Linked DNA regions of Homo sapiens: all the other regions are linked to region 1. The links are contacts of gene promoters, found by promoter capture Hi-C in blood cells and fetal thymus (Javierre and others, 2016). All regions are on one chromosome and are shown on one strand. Each heading gives the region's core, a stretch centred on a gene start or on the middle of the fragment in contact. The rest is flanking DNA. Distances are from core to core; before and after follow the strand shown.

What was found. Contacts are between HindIII fragments. The CHiCAGO score rates a contact against its expected background, and 5 or more counts as called.
Region 2: the fragment with the promoter of MMP24-AS1-EDEM2 here is called in contact with the fragment with the promoter of AHCY in region 1 in 1 of 17 cell types (neutrophils); the score reaches 6.4 in neutrophils.
Region 3: a contact is called between the fragment with the promoter of NCOA6 here and the fragment with the promoter of AHCY in region 1, in 1 of 17 cell types (activated CD4 T cells). The highest score is 8.3, in activated CD4 T cells.

Annotation. Positions count from the first base shown.
Region 1 is chr20:34,301,447-34,305,075 of GRCh38, forward strand. AHCY (adenosylhomocysteinase) reads right to left here and starts at 1,909. Exons shown (of 10, transcript NM_000687.4): 1 at 1,797-1,909. The coding sequence starts at 1,824. RefSeq lists a silencer at 1,284-1,513 and enhancers at 2,084-2,133, 2,154-2,273. The HindIII fragment of the contact is 32,031 bases long and covers 1-3,629 here.
Region 2 is chr20:35,276,487-35,280,115 of GRCh38, forward strand. It overlaps MMP24-AS1-EDEM2 (MMP24-AS1-EDEM2 readthrough), which reads right to left and starts at 1,636. Exons shown (of 15, transcript NM_001355008.2): 1 at 1,560-1,636. MMP24 (matrix metallopeptidase 24) reads left to right here. Exons shown (of 9, transcript NM_006690.4): 9 at 1-512. MMP24OS (MMP24 opposite strand) reads right to left here and starts at 1,636. Exons shown (of 2, transcript NM_001355003.2): 1 at 1,523-1,636; 2 at 1-1,446. The coding sequence starts at 1,443. The coding sequence ends at 1,228. EIF6 (eukaryotic translation initiation factor 6) reads right to left here. Exons shown (of 7, transcript NM_002212.4): 5 at 3,456-3,629; 6 at 3,080-3,261; 7 at 2,432-2,720. The coding sequence ends at 2,711. RefSeq lists enhancers at 1-179, 766-865, 986-1,155 and silencers at 1,286-1,505, 1,596-1,815. The HindIII fragment of the contact is 17,447 bases long and covers 1-3,629 here.
Region 3 is chr20:34,823,574-34,827,202 of GRCh38, forward strand. It overlaps NCOA6 (nuclear receptor coactivator 6), which reads right to left and starts at 2,078. Exons shown (of 15, transcript NM_014071.5): 1 at 1,899-2,078. RefSeq lists silencers at 1,545-1,984, 1,995-2,184. The HindIII fragment of the contact is 10,135 bases long and covers 1-2,482 here.

The sequences.
Region 1 (3,629 bases), core at 659-3,158:
GAACACCTGTCCCCAGGACAAGCCAAGAGGAACAGCAAGAGCCCCTGTAAACATCAGTTTCTTCATCTGTAAAGTGTGGATAATCATCCCTAGCTTGCTATGCGCCTTAAGTAAAGATAATGCCATATGATCAAGATCTGGCATACAGCAGGGCCTCCTTCCTCCAGCCCCACCCAGCTAAGCTCCCCATCCCCAAATCCAGCTTTATCTCCACCCACACAACCCAATGGCCCCAATCCTGACCCACTAATCTCTCCACAGTATGACAAGCCCCCATTCCAGCTCTACTATTGATGTGACCTTCACATAACCTTTCTGGGTTCAGTTTCAGCATCCACACAATGGAGACAGTCTACTCTGGTAGCAACTTGATGAACTACTTCAACAGAATCTTTGCAAGTCACCTCCCAAGGGCCTCAGTTTCATGCTCTATATAACGGGATTACGTCCACCTCTATGAAGATTATTGTGTAAACACACGTAAATCACCAGATATACAGCAAGTGTTTCCATAAATGTGGATGGCATTCTCCAGACTTAATAGTGTCTTTTTTTGTTTGTTTTTTTTTTTTGAGACAGGGTCTTGCTCTGTTGCCCAGGTTGGAGCGTGGTGGTGCAATCTCGGCTCACTGCAACCTCCGTCTCCCCGGCTCAAACAGTCCTCCTGCCTCAGCCTCCCGAGTAGCTGGGAATGAAGGCGCCCGCCACCACGCCCAGCTAGTTTTTGTATTTTTGGTAGAGATAGCGTTTCACCACGTTGGCCAGGCTGGTCTCGAACTCTTGACCTCAAGTGATTCGCCCACCTCGGCCTCTCAAAGTGCTGGGACTACAGGGGTGAGCCACCACACCCGGTCCAATAGTGTCAAAGTTACTTGAAAAGCTACCAGCCAAACTGAACTGGTTTTTGCTGAAAATTCACTAGGATTGTTCCGCGTGTATTCGCTTGCACACAGTGGTGAAAGGGTGCGCTCAGAGATCTAGATGGCCTGCGTTCCAATCTTGCTCCATCACCACCAGCTGTAAGACTGAGGGCAAGTTACCTCTGCCTCAGGATTCTCATCATAAAATGAGAACAGTTTCCCTATAGAGCCATGAGACTAGAATAAAGCTAGAAGGCAGTGCCGATCCCACAGGAAACACTAAGTAAACGTTAACTATCCCTGTATTACACTTCAATCGGTGGGACAGCAGGATTTTTCAAACCACTCCAAATTTTCTTCGAGATTTCTGCAAGGCTGCCCCTGCTGGAGGGGTGGGGGACCCCACAGGTTGGGTAACTGGCCCAAAGTCCCAGGGGAGAGGAGGATCGGAGCCGGCCTGGGGCTCGCTTTCCAGGCCTCTCCTCATACACCCTCCGGGGTGCCCTCGCCGTCCCTGTAGGAGGCCCAGAGAGGGGTGGACGCTCGTCGGGGCCGCCCAGCTGGACAGGGTCCGGTCCAGGCCTAGGAGGCCGGGCGCAGGCCCCCCGAGCAGGGTCCGGCAGGTGCCAGCCGTCCCAGGCCGTGGCCAGGTGTGCTCTCCCGCGGAGCACGCCGCCAGTTTGCGGCTCGCAGACCGCGCGGCGGCCCCGGCGTCGCGGGGCATGCTGGGACTTGTAGTCCACGGCCACCCGGAACGGCCCGCTCATGGCCGCGCGAGAACTCCAACTTCCAGCTGGCTTCGCGCGGCCAGAAACGCGCCGAGGCTGCGATTCCAGGGGGTCCAGAGAGCCCCGAGTCGGCCCTGCAGCCCCCGCCACGAACAAGCCCCGGGCGGGTGCCGGGCGGCCGCAACCGGCTGCAGGTCCTGGGACTCACCGACTTTGTAGGGCAGTTTGTCAGACATGCTGGCGGCACTCGTGATGGAAACGGGCGAAGGGGGCTGGGCCTCAGTCTGGGAACAGGAACTGGGCGGGCAGCGCCGAGCAGGGATATGCGCGTGGCGCCGACGCCTTTAAATATCTTCCTCGCACTTGCATATTCATGACCCGCTGGGGCGGGGCCCAACGCGCAGGGCGGAGCCGGAGGGGATTTCGATCCCTGAAAAGAAGCCTCAGAATTTCACAAGGCGTGGCCCCAGGAGTCTCACTCACCGGTCCGGAAGGGAGCGCCGGGAGAGGCCTGAGAGCCAGCCGGGCCGTCCTCTCGCTGGTTCAGCCAGTTGATTCAGTGTCAAAACCCAGCGGAACTGAAATTCCGCCAGTTCACTTCCCTGTGCCTCAATTTCCTCATCTGTAAAATGGGCCAAATGACATCTGCCACACAGATTATTATAAGTAAAGTTGCAGGCCAGGCGCGGTGGCTCACACCTGTAATCCCAGCACTTTGGGAGGCCAAGGCGGGAGGATCGCTTGAGCCCAGGAGTTCAAGACCATCCTGGGCAACACAGTGAGACCTGAACTCTACAAAAAAAAATTAAAAATTAGCCGGGCGTGGTGGCGCGCGCTTGTGGTCCCAGCTACTTGGGACGCGGAGGCGGGAGGGAGGATCTTTTGAGCCTGGAGATCGAGGCTGCAGTGAGCTATCATCCCACCACAGCACTTGAGCCTGGGCGAAAGGGCAAGACCCTATCTCAAAAAAACCAAAACAAAGTTAAGTTGCCATTTGTCAGGTACCTACTGACATCCCAAACATTCGCCTTACTCCAAGTAACCAACACCCTGAATTTAAGTAAGTTTGCATACATTTCTTATACTTTTACTGCATCCGTATATCATTAAATAGTTCTGTGTTTAGCACCTTTATATATCAACCGTATTTACCCTTCTGCAACTTGCTTTTTTCTGTGAGCATTATATTTATGAGACTCATGCATATAGCTTGAGTATATTCATTTTTGCTGCTGTATAATTCAGTCATCCCAGGCATGGGAAGGGGAAATTGGTTTCAGGACCTCTGTGGACTCCAAAACCCTTCTATGTTCAAGTCCCTCATATAAAATGAGGCAGTATTGGCATATAACCTATGCACATTCCTCCGTACACTTTAATCATCTCTAGATTACTTATAACTAATATAATGTAAATGCTATGCAAATGGTTGTTTTGTAATTTGTATTATTTTTATAGTTATGTTTTTTTAATTGCTTTTTTTCCCCTGAATTTTTTTTTTTTTTTATGGAGTCTCACTCTGTCGCCCACACTGGAGTGCAGTGGCACCATCTAGGCTCGCTGCAACCTCCACCTCCCGGGTTCAAGCAATTCTCCTGCCTCAGCCTCCCGAGTGGCTTGGATTACAGGCACGCACCACCACACCTGGCTAATTTTGTTTTTTCTTTTTTTGAGATAGAGTTTGGCGCTTGTTGCCCAGGCTGGAGTGCAATGGCATGATCTTGGCTCACACCAACCTCTGCCTCCCGGATTCAAGCGATTCTCTTGCCTCAGCCTCCCGAGTAGCTGGGATTACAGGCATGAGCCACCACGCCTGGCTAATTTTGTATTTTTAGTAGAGACGGGGTTTCTCCATATTGGTCAGGCTAATCTCGAACTCCCGACCTCAGGTGATCCGCCAGCCTCTGCCTCCCAAAGTGCTGGGATTACTGGCGTGAGCCACCGTGCCCGGCCTCTACTCATTTTTTAACCTAAAAATGAGAAAAGAATTAAACTCTTCTGGCCGGGCGCGTGGCTCACGCCTGTAATCCCAGCACATTGG
Region 2 (3,629 bases), core at 386-2,885, 970 kb after region 1:
CATCCAGTGGGCTGGCTGGGTCTTGTGTCCCCATCTGTGGACCCCTCTAGGGTCTGAGATGAGATGAGAAGTGTCTCCTGTATCCACCTCTTCCTGGCCTCCCTTCCCCCACTTCCTGGTCCCTGTCCACTCCTCAGGTTGGTGCTCTCACTTCTTGAAAGCTCTAGGCACCCCCGCCTCCCGCCAGGCTCCCCATTGGCTCCTGGCAGGCCAGCTGAGAATGAACAGGAGATGGAGGCAGGCAGCCCAGGCTGCAGAGGTGAGGGATGTGGGGCCAGGCCCAGAGGGCTCAGCCTAGAGGCTTCCAATCTCAGATTCTCCTGCCTGTGGTCATCTGTTTGTCCATCACCCCAGGACAGGGCAGACAGAGGGGCAAAGCACTGGGGGCCCCAGAGCCTAGCTTCCCCTCAGCCTGGGGGACATCACAGCATTTCAGTGTCAGTCACATTTTAAACTGATCAGCCTTTGTATAATGTTTTTTAAATCATTTCTAAATAAAACAGAAATACAGAGTGTGTCATTTCCCTGGGATGAGGGAACAAAGATCAGGTTCCAAGAGTAACCTTAGGACGCTCTGGGAAGAGAACCGGGTCCTTTGGGGTGTCTGGGAGCTGCCCACCCATCTCCTCTGCCAGACCGGCGGTCAGATAGCCTCCCTCTACAACAGGCTGGCCCTGGGGGCCCAGGGTTATTGGGGTTCCAGGAACACAGCCTGATGATGCCTCCTTACGATCCAGGATGGAGAGCAGCCCCCCCAGGAGTATGGGGAGGGTCACTGTGGCACGGGCTTCTCCATGACCTGGGACATGACCTGGGACACATAGTCAAGAGCACGGTTATCAGCAATACAGATATTAATAAAAGGCAGACGAAGTCAGGAGGTCAGCAACTTTGCGGGCTTACCAGGAGGCCTGTCCTGCCTCTGGAAGCCAGCGACAGAGAGGGATGCCCCCGACCCAGCCAGCCGGAGAAAGGGATGGGGTGGTCACGAAGGTCTGAGCTGGGTCTGGGTGTAGGCTGGGAAGCAGGCTGGGGTGTAGACTGCGAAGGCGGCCCTGCCGGGACTTCTTTCCAGTCCCCGGCGACCTCTTCGAATTCTCTGCTATCTCTGGGGAGCCTCGGGTGGGAGGGGGTGTAAGAGACGCAGGGACGTGGGGAGAGGAGACAAGGCAGGCAAGAACCACAGGGGACGGCGGACAGACGGGCGACATCCTGCGGAGGACGCCGTCAGTACCAGGAAGTGCAGGCGATGAGGAAGCGCACGTCGTCCAGCGGCCCCCACGGGCTGGGCTCGGGCTGGGGCTGGGGCTGGGGCTGGGGCTGGGGCTGGGGCGGATGCCGGGGCTGTTCCGGGCCCTCCGGCGCCGCAGGCTGGGGCTGGGGCTGGGGCTGGGTTTGCGCAGGCTCCGGGGCGCCGCGGCCGCCGCTTAGCTGAGCCCCCATGGTCTGCAAGAAGAGAAGCCCTTTAAGGTCTGGGTCGCCGGGACACCCCGCTAGGGCCCCGCCCCGGCTCTGCCCTCACCTCTCGCAGCCAGACCCGCGGGTCTCCCGGAACCCACCTCGGCGTCGGGAGGAGCTGGCGCCGTGACGCCACCACCGCGTACCGACCTCACCCTCCGTGCGTTGGAGCGGAAAGAAGGGACTCGACCCTGTGCTTCGGGGCGGGGCTCCGCGACCGTCCCCCGCCAATCCCGCCCCAGCGCCTCAAGGCCCCGCCCCGCGCAAGGGGACGGAATGCACCCCAACAGCCTCCAAGACGCCCAGGCCAGGAGGACGCTGGGAACCCGCTGCCCCGCCCCACGCCCACCCAGGAAAAGACCTGCAACCTCCATCCACCTTAGTCAAAGAATGCCCCGAAGCCAGATGCCCCAGAGCTCTCACAGGGGACTTGCCCAGCTCAGGGGAAAATCGGAACGGACTCTCTGCCTTTCAAGGCCAGAGAAGACCGGCGCAGAAGTCGGGTGAAAACTGTGAGAACTAGACCGGGCGCCGTGGCTCACGCCTGTAATCCCAACACTTTGGGAGGCCGAGGCGGTGGGTCGCTTGAGTTCAGGAGTATAAACCAGCCTGGGCAACACAGTGACTTCGTTTCTACAAAAAAATAAACGAGGCGAGAGGATCGCTTGAGCCCAACAGGTCAAGGCTACAGTGAGCCATCCTTGCGTCACAACACTCCAGCCTGGGTGACAGAGGGAGACACTGCCTCAAAAAGAAAAAAGAAAAAAGGAGAACTGTAGTGGAGAGTGTTTCTTGCCCCAGGATGAAGCCTCACATCCTGATGGTAGAGGAGAAGGGAATGGCGTGTGTGGAGGTGGTGAACTGGGTTGGGTGTGTGTTGTGTTCATCCCACCCTATCTTCCCAGAATGCTGGAACAACTGGAGAGTGCAGGGATTGTACACAGGCTGAGGGCCCCAAACATCACATTCAGAATGGCCCGGAGGGAACTGCACTTTAATGGGGTGGCACAGGACAGCAGAACCCTCAGCCAGCAGCCACAGGGCCTGCCAGCCAGCACAACAGAGCAGGTTTTTGCAGTAATGATAGATCCAGGCGATAAGCACAGGTGGAAAAGGGTTGGGTGCCCAGCCCCTCAGTCCCAGTGAGCTCTCTGCCACCTCCCTGCCAGCATCCGGTACAGATTGGGCGGAATGTGGAGAAGGTTGGCCACAGTCCAGAGCCAGGAGCCCATGGAACAACTTGGAAGGTGACTCAGGTGAGGCTGAAGAGAAAGGAAAGCGCACGGTCAGTAGCTGTTTCACAGAGCCCACCTCACTCTCAAGTGAGGTGCCTGCCTCAGCCCTCATCCCGGGACCAGCTCTGACAAGCTGCTCAAGCAGCTACTGCTCTAGTATCCTAGCCCTGAAAAACCACAAAGATGAGGATTAGCAGATGCTCAAGAAATATTTTTTGAATATGCTGGCTCTTATCTGCTCAGCAGTGTACAGATATGCTCTCACACTCGAGAAGCTACCAGAACAAACTGGTAGGCTCCCATTCTAGATGACATCTTTTCCCCATACTCTCAAAATGCAAGTTAACCCCCAACCCTGAGCAGAAGAAAGGAGAGGCCCCAGGTACCTGTCAATGAGGGAATCCCGCATGCTGGTGGCAATGGTGCTAGGCTGGGCTTCATTCAGCTTGAAGACACTCTCCACCACTGACAGCTCTGTGCTGGTTGTGTCCAGGCCACAGAAGGCACACCAGTCATTCACCACCATCCCAGCAGCAATCACCTCACTGCCTCGGTTCACAGTCCCCGCCTGCCAAGGGATGGGCTCAATGTGAGTCACGGCACCAAATTCTCTCCCTCCTCAATGAAGACTCTCCCCAAACCCTGCTCCTCCCTGACCTGCAGCCCCAGTCCCAAACTGTGGCAGGTAATGACCCAGACTCCCAAACACTAGGCAAAAGGATCTGCCTCGGGAGACGGGGTTCAGAGGACAGGAATGCTTACCACAAGGGGGACTTGAAGAAGAGAGGACAGCTCATCCTGGTCTTCAATTGAAGTCTTGGGATGCACCAGCCCTCCCTGATTGCTGAAGACACAGTAGCTTCCTACTAGCACCTGGTCGGCCACTGTCTGTCTGAAGACTTCCACCTTGAGCACATCTGCCAGAATTTCTTCTGT
Region 3 (3,629 bases), core at 828-3,327, 520 kb after region 1:
CTTCTCTAACATGATCCAACTTCAATTAATAAAATAGAGACTCTGGGTGTCTACAATTTTTCACTTTTCTTTTTTAGGATTTTGTGTTCCTTTGTGGTAAACACCTAGAAGAGAAGGAGCATCTCTCTTTTTTTTTTTTCTTTAGACAGTGTCTTGCTCTGTCGCCCAGGCAGGAATGTCATGGAATGACCATAGCATGGCTCATTGCAGCCTTGACCTCCCAGGCTCAAGCGATCCTCCCACCTCAGCCTCCTGAGTAGCTGGGACTACAAGTACAAGCCACATCAGGTGGCTAATTTTTTTTATTTCTTTTGTAGAGATGGGGTCTGCCAGCTCCTGGGCTCAAGAAATCCTCCCACCTTGGCCTCCCAAAGTGTTGGGATTACAGGCGTGAGCCACTGTGGCTGGCCGGAGCACCTCTTAAAACTCTAGAAAGTTAGAAGGTCTCAAAGATAACTTCTTTGCACAATTAGAGATGAACCAGGAAATACCAAATAACTGGCTGCCTATACTTTTTTGTATTCCCTTCAGCCTTTGTATTGCCACACTCATTACAGGAAGAAAACAAATTTAATAGTTATCTGGTATATACTGTTATGCTTCATTTCTTGTTGTTTTTGTTTGTTTGCTTTTAGTTTCATCACAAGAATGTTATGCTTCATTTCTTAACACCTTTCTCCCAGCTAGCAAATTCCTTTAAGGCAATGTGTTTAGTGAGGAAGCAGCCGACAATTTCTAGTACCCCTCTGCCACTAACTTGTAAGATCTTGAAAAGTCAACTTTACCTTTCTATGTTTCAGCTAAAATCACTACCTGATTTGAAATCTTTACTTGATCTCTCAGGCCTTTGTAGTTTTTATACATTCACTCTTCTTCACCATTTTACTGGCTTCAATAACGCCTTTCTGATGACCTCTCCAGGTGACTCTGCTCTTAAGCTGTGGGCTGTCCCCTTCCAGGGAAGACACCTTGGGTCACCGCCCCCAAACAGCCAGGTCCCTCCTTTTAAAGACACACACAACTCCCTAAGTTGATAAAGGTTCTCTCCTTCCTTGCCAACCAGTTCCACTCTCTGTGCCTCTTTTGCTGGCCAGCTCCTGCACCCAAACCTCAGTCTCCCTTTGTCCCCCTTTTCTCTCATCAAACACCTCCTTTTTCCTGTTGCTTCCCCCAAGAGGGGGTGGAGGATGCTTGGGACATAAGTCTTCAGAGCCTTGGGAGTTATACAGCTTTGCAATTCAGCCCCAGTACCCCAAGGACTGCCCCAATCTGAACCAGCGTCTGTACCCAAAGGGCCCTCATTCCTCATCAATCACCTCCTTCCCTCCCAGCAAAGAACTGCTCCAGCCCTGACAGCCTGAGCTTGGCCCCCATGCCTCCACCCCAATCCCCAGGTCCTACCTGCATTAGGGCTCTAACACCGCCTAAGGCCTAACCCAGTTCCACGTCCTGCCATCCTCTCAGCCCATAGACCCCAATCCCGGTTCCCTTCGGACCCAGTGTTCCTTCTCCGCGACCCTGACCACGACCCCACGACCGGCTCCCGCCTGTTCCCCAGGCCTGGAGCGCCACCCCGTGCAGACCCCGGCCAGCCCTGCACTCCCTCAGTGCACCGGCCCCCGCGCCCAGCACCCTCCCCACCCAGCCCGGCCGCCGCTCCCTCCAGCGCCCCCGCCCGCAGGCCTGGGGCCCGCTCCCCAACATGGCGACGGGGACACAAGCGCGGCGGGCGGGGCGGCTCCGGGCCGGGCCCGCTCTCAGACCGTGCCACTCGGTCGCCCGGCGCCATTTTTCCGCGCGGGCCCGGGCGGCGCCTCCTCCCCGCGAAGCCAGCCCGACAAGGACCGCGGACGCCCGGCGGGCCCACCCCTTACGGGCCCGCGCCGCCGTCCCCTCACCTGAGCGCGGCCCCGGCCCTCCCGGGCGGGCCTTGGAGCGCCGGCCCGGGCCGTGCGTGCCCGCCGCCCTCGGTGCGTCCGTCCGTCAGTCCTCGCGTGCGCCCGTCTGTCCCGCCGCCCGCGCCCGGCCGCCCGCAGCCCGACCCGGCAGGGCCTCACGGAGCCGGCGGGGAGGGGGATGGGCCGGACCGGGCCGGGGAGGGAGGGGGAGGGAGGGAGAGAGGGAGGGAGCGCGAGAGGGGGCGGGGCGGACTCGAGGGGCGGGGCATTGCCCACGTGACCAGACGTCCCCGGGAGCGCGAGGTGGAGCGCGCGCCAGCTCCCTTCGGTGCTGAGTGCTTAGTGCTGGGATCTCGTGGGTCTCTGTCGGCTTTCCAGGGCTATTCTCTCGCCAGTGAGTCCCACTTCGGAAGCACACATTGCACAGTCTTTTGCGAGCGCTCTGAGTATCCTTGGACATGGCAACTCCAAGCCTCAGTTTACCCATCTGAAATATGGGGAAAATCATAGTGCTTGTGAAGAGCAAATGGAGGTGGGCTTGGAAAGCACTTGTCACCGTGCCTGACACATACTGTCTAATAATAAGCTTAATGGGATATAGATAAAAGCTTTCATTATTATTTGCCTCTAAATCCCTCTCTTCTTTTTCCCATCATTACCTCCCTAGCAAGCTAAAATGCTCAGTAAATAGAATTATTGATCGAACGAGTGTGGCCCCTCCCCTCTTCCCAAACGTAGAAAGGCCTCCTCAGCACTGGACTTCATGTCTGTCATACAGGCCTGGATTCATATCTGGCTTTCACTCTTTTTTAAAAATTTTCTGTTTTTTCCCACACTACACTGATGTATTTTTTAAATTTTCGTAAGTACGTAGTAGGTGAATATATTTATGGGGTACATGAGATTTTGATACAGGCATGCGATGTGTAATCACATCATGGTAAATGGGGTATCTAGCAACTCAAGCATTTATCCTTTGTGTTACAAATAACCCAATTATACTCTAGTTATTTTAAAATGTACAAGTAAATTTTGTGTGTGTGTGGTTTTTTTTTTGTTTTTTGTTTTATTTTTGTTTTTTTGAGACGGAGTCTCACTCCGTCGCCCAGGCTGGAGTGCAGTGGCGCGATCTCAGCTCACTGCAACTTCCGCCTCCCTGGTTCAAGGGATTCGCCTGCCTCAGCCTCCTGAGTAGCTGGTACTACAGGCGCATGCCACCACGCCCAGCTAATTTTTGTATATTTTTTAAGTAGAGATGGGGTTTCACCATATTGGCCGGGCTGGTCAGGAACTCCTGACCTCATGATCCGCCCGCCTCTGCCCCTCAAAGTGCTGGGATTATAGGCGTGAGCCACCGCGCCCGGCCAATTGTTTTTTACTGTAGTCACCTTCTTGTGCTAGCAAATACTAGGTCTTATTCTTTCTAACTATTCTTTTGTACCCGTTAATCATTCCCACTTCCCACCTACCTCCCCATTAATCTTACCAGCCTCTGGTAACCCTCCTTCTATTCTCTATCTCCATGAGTTCAATTGTTTTAATTTTTCGCTCCTGGCCCGGCATGGTGGCTCACGCCTGTAATCCTAGCACTTTGGGAGGCCAAGATGGGCGGATCACCTGAGGTCAGGAGTTCAAGACCAGCCTGGCCAACATGGTGAAACCCTGTCTCTACTAAAATACAAAAGCTAGGTGGGCATGATGGCGGGTGCCTGTAATCCCAGCTACTCAGGA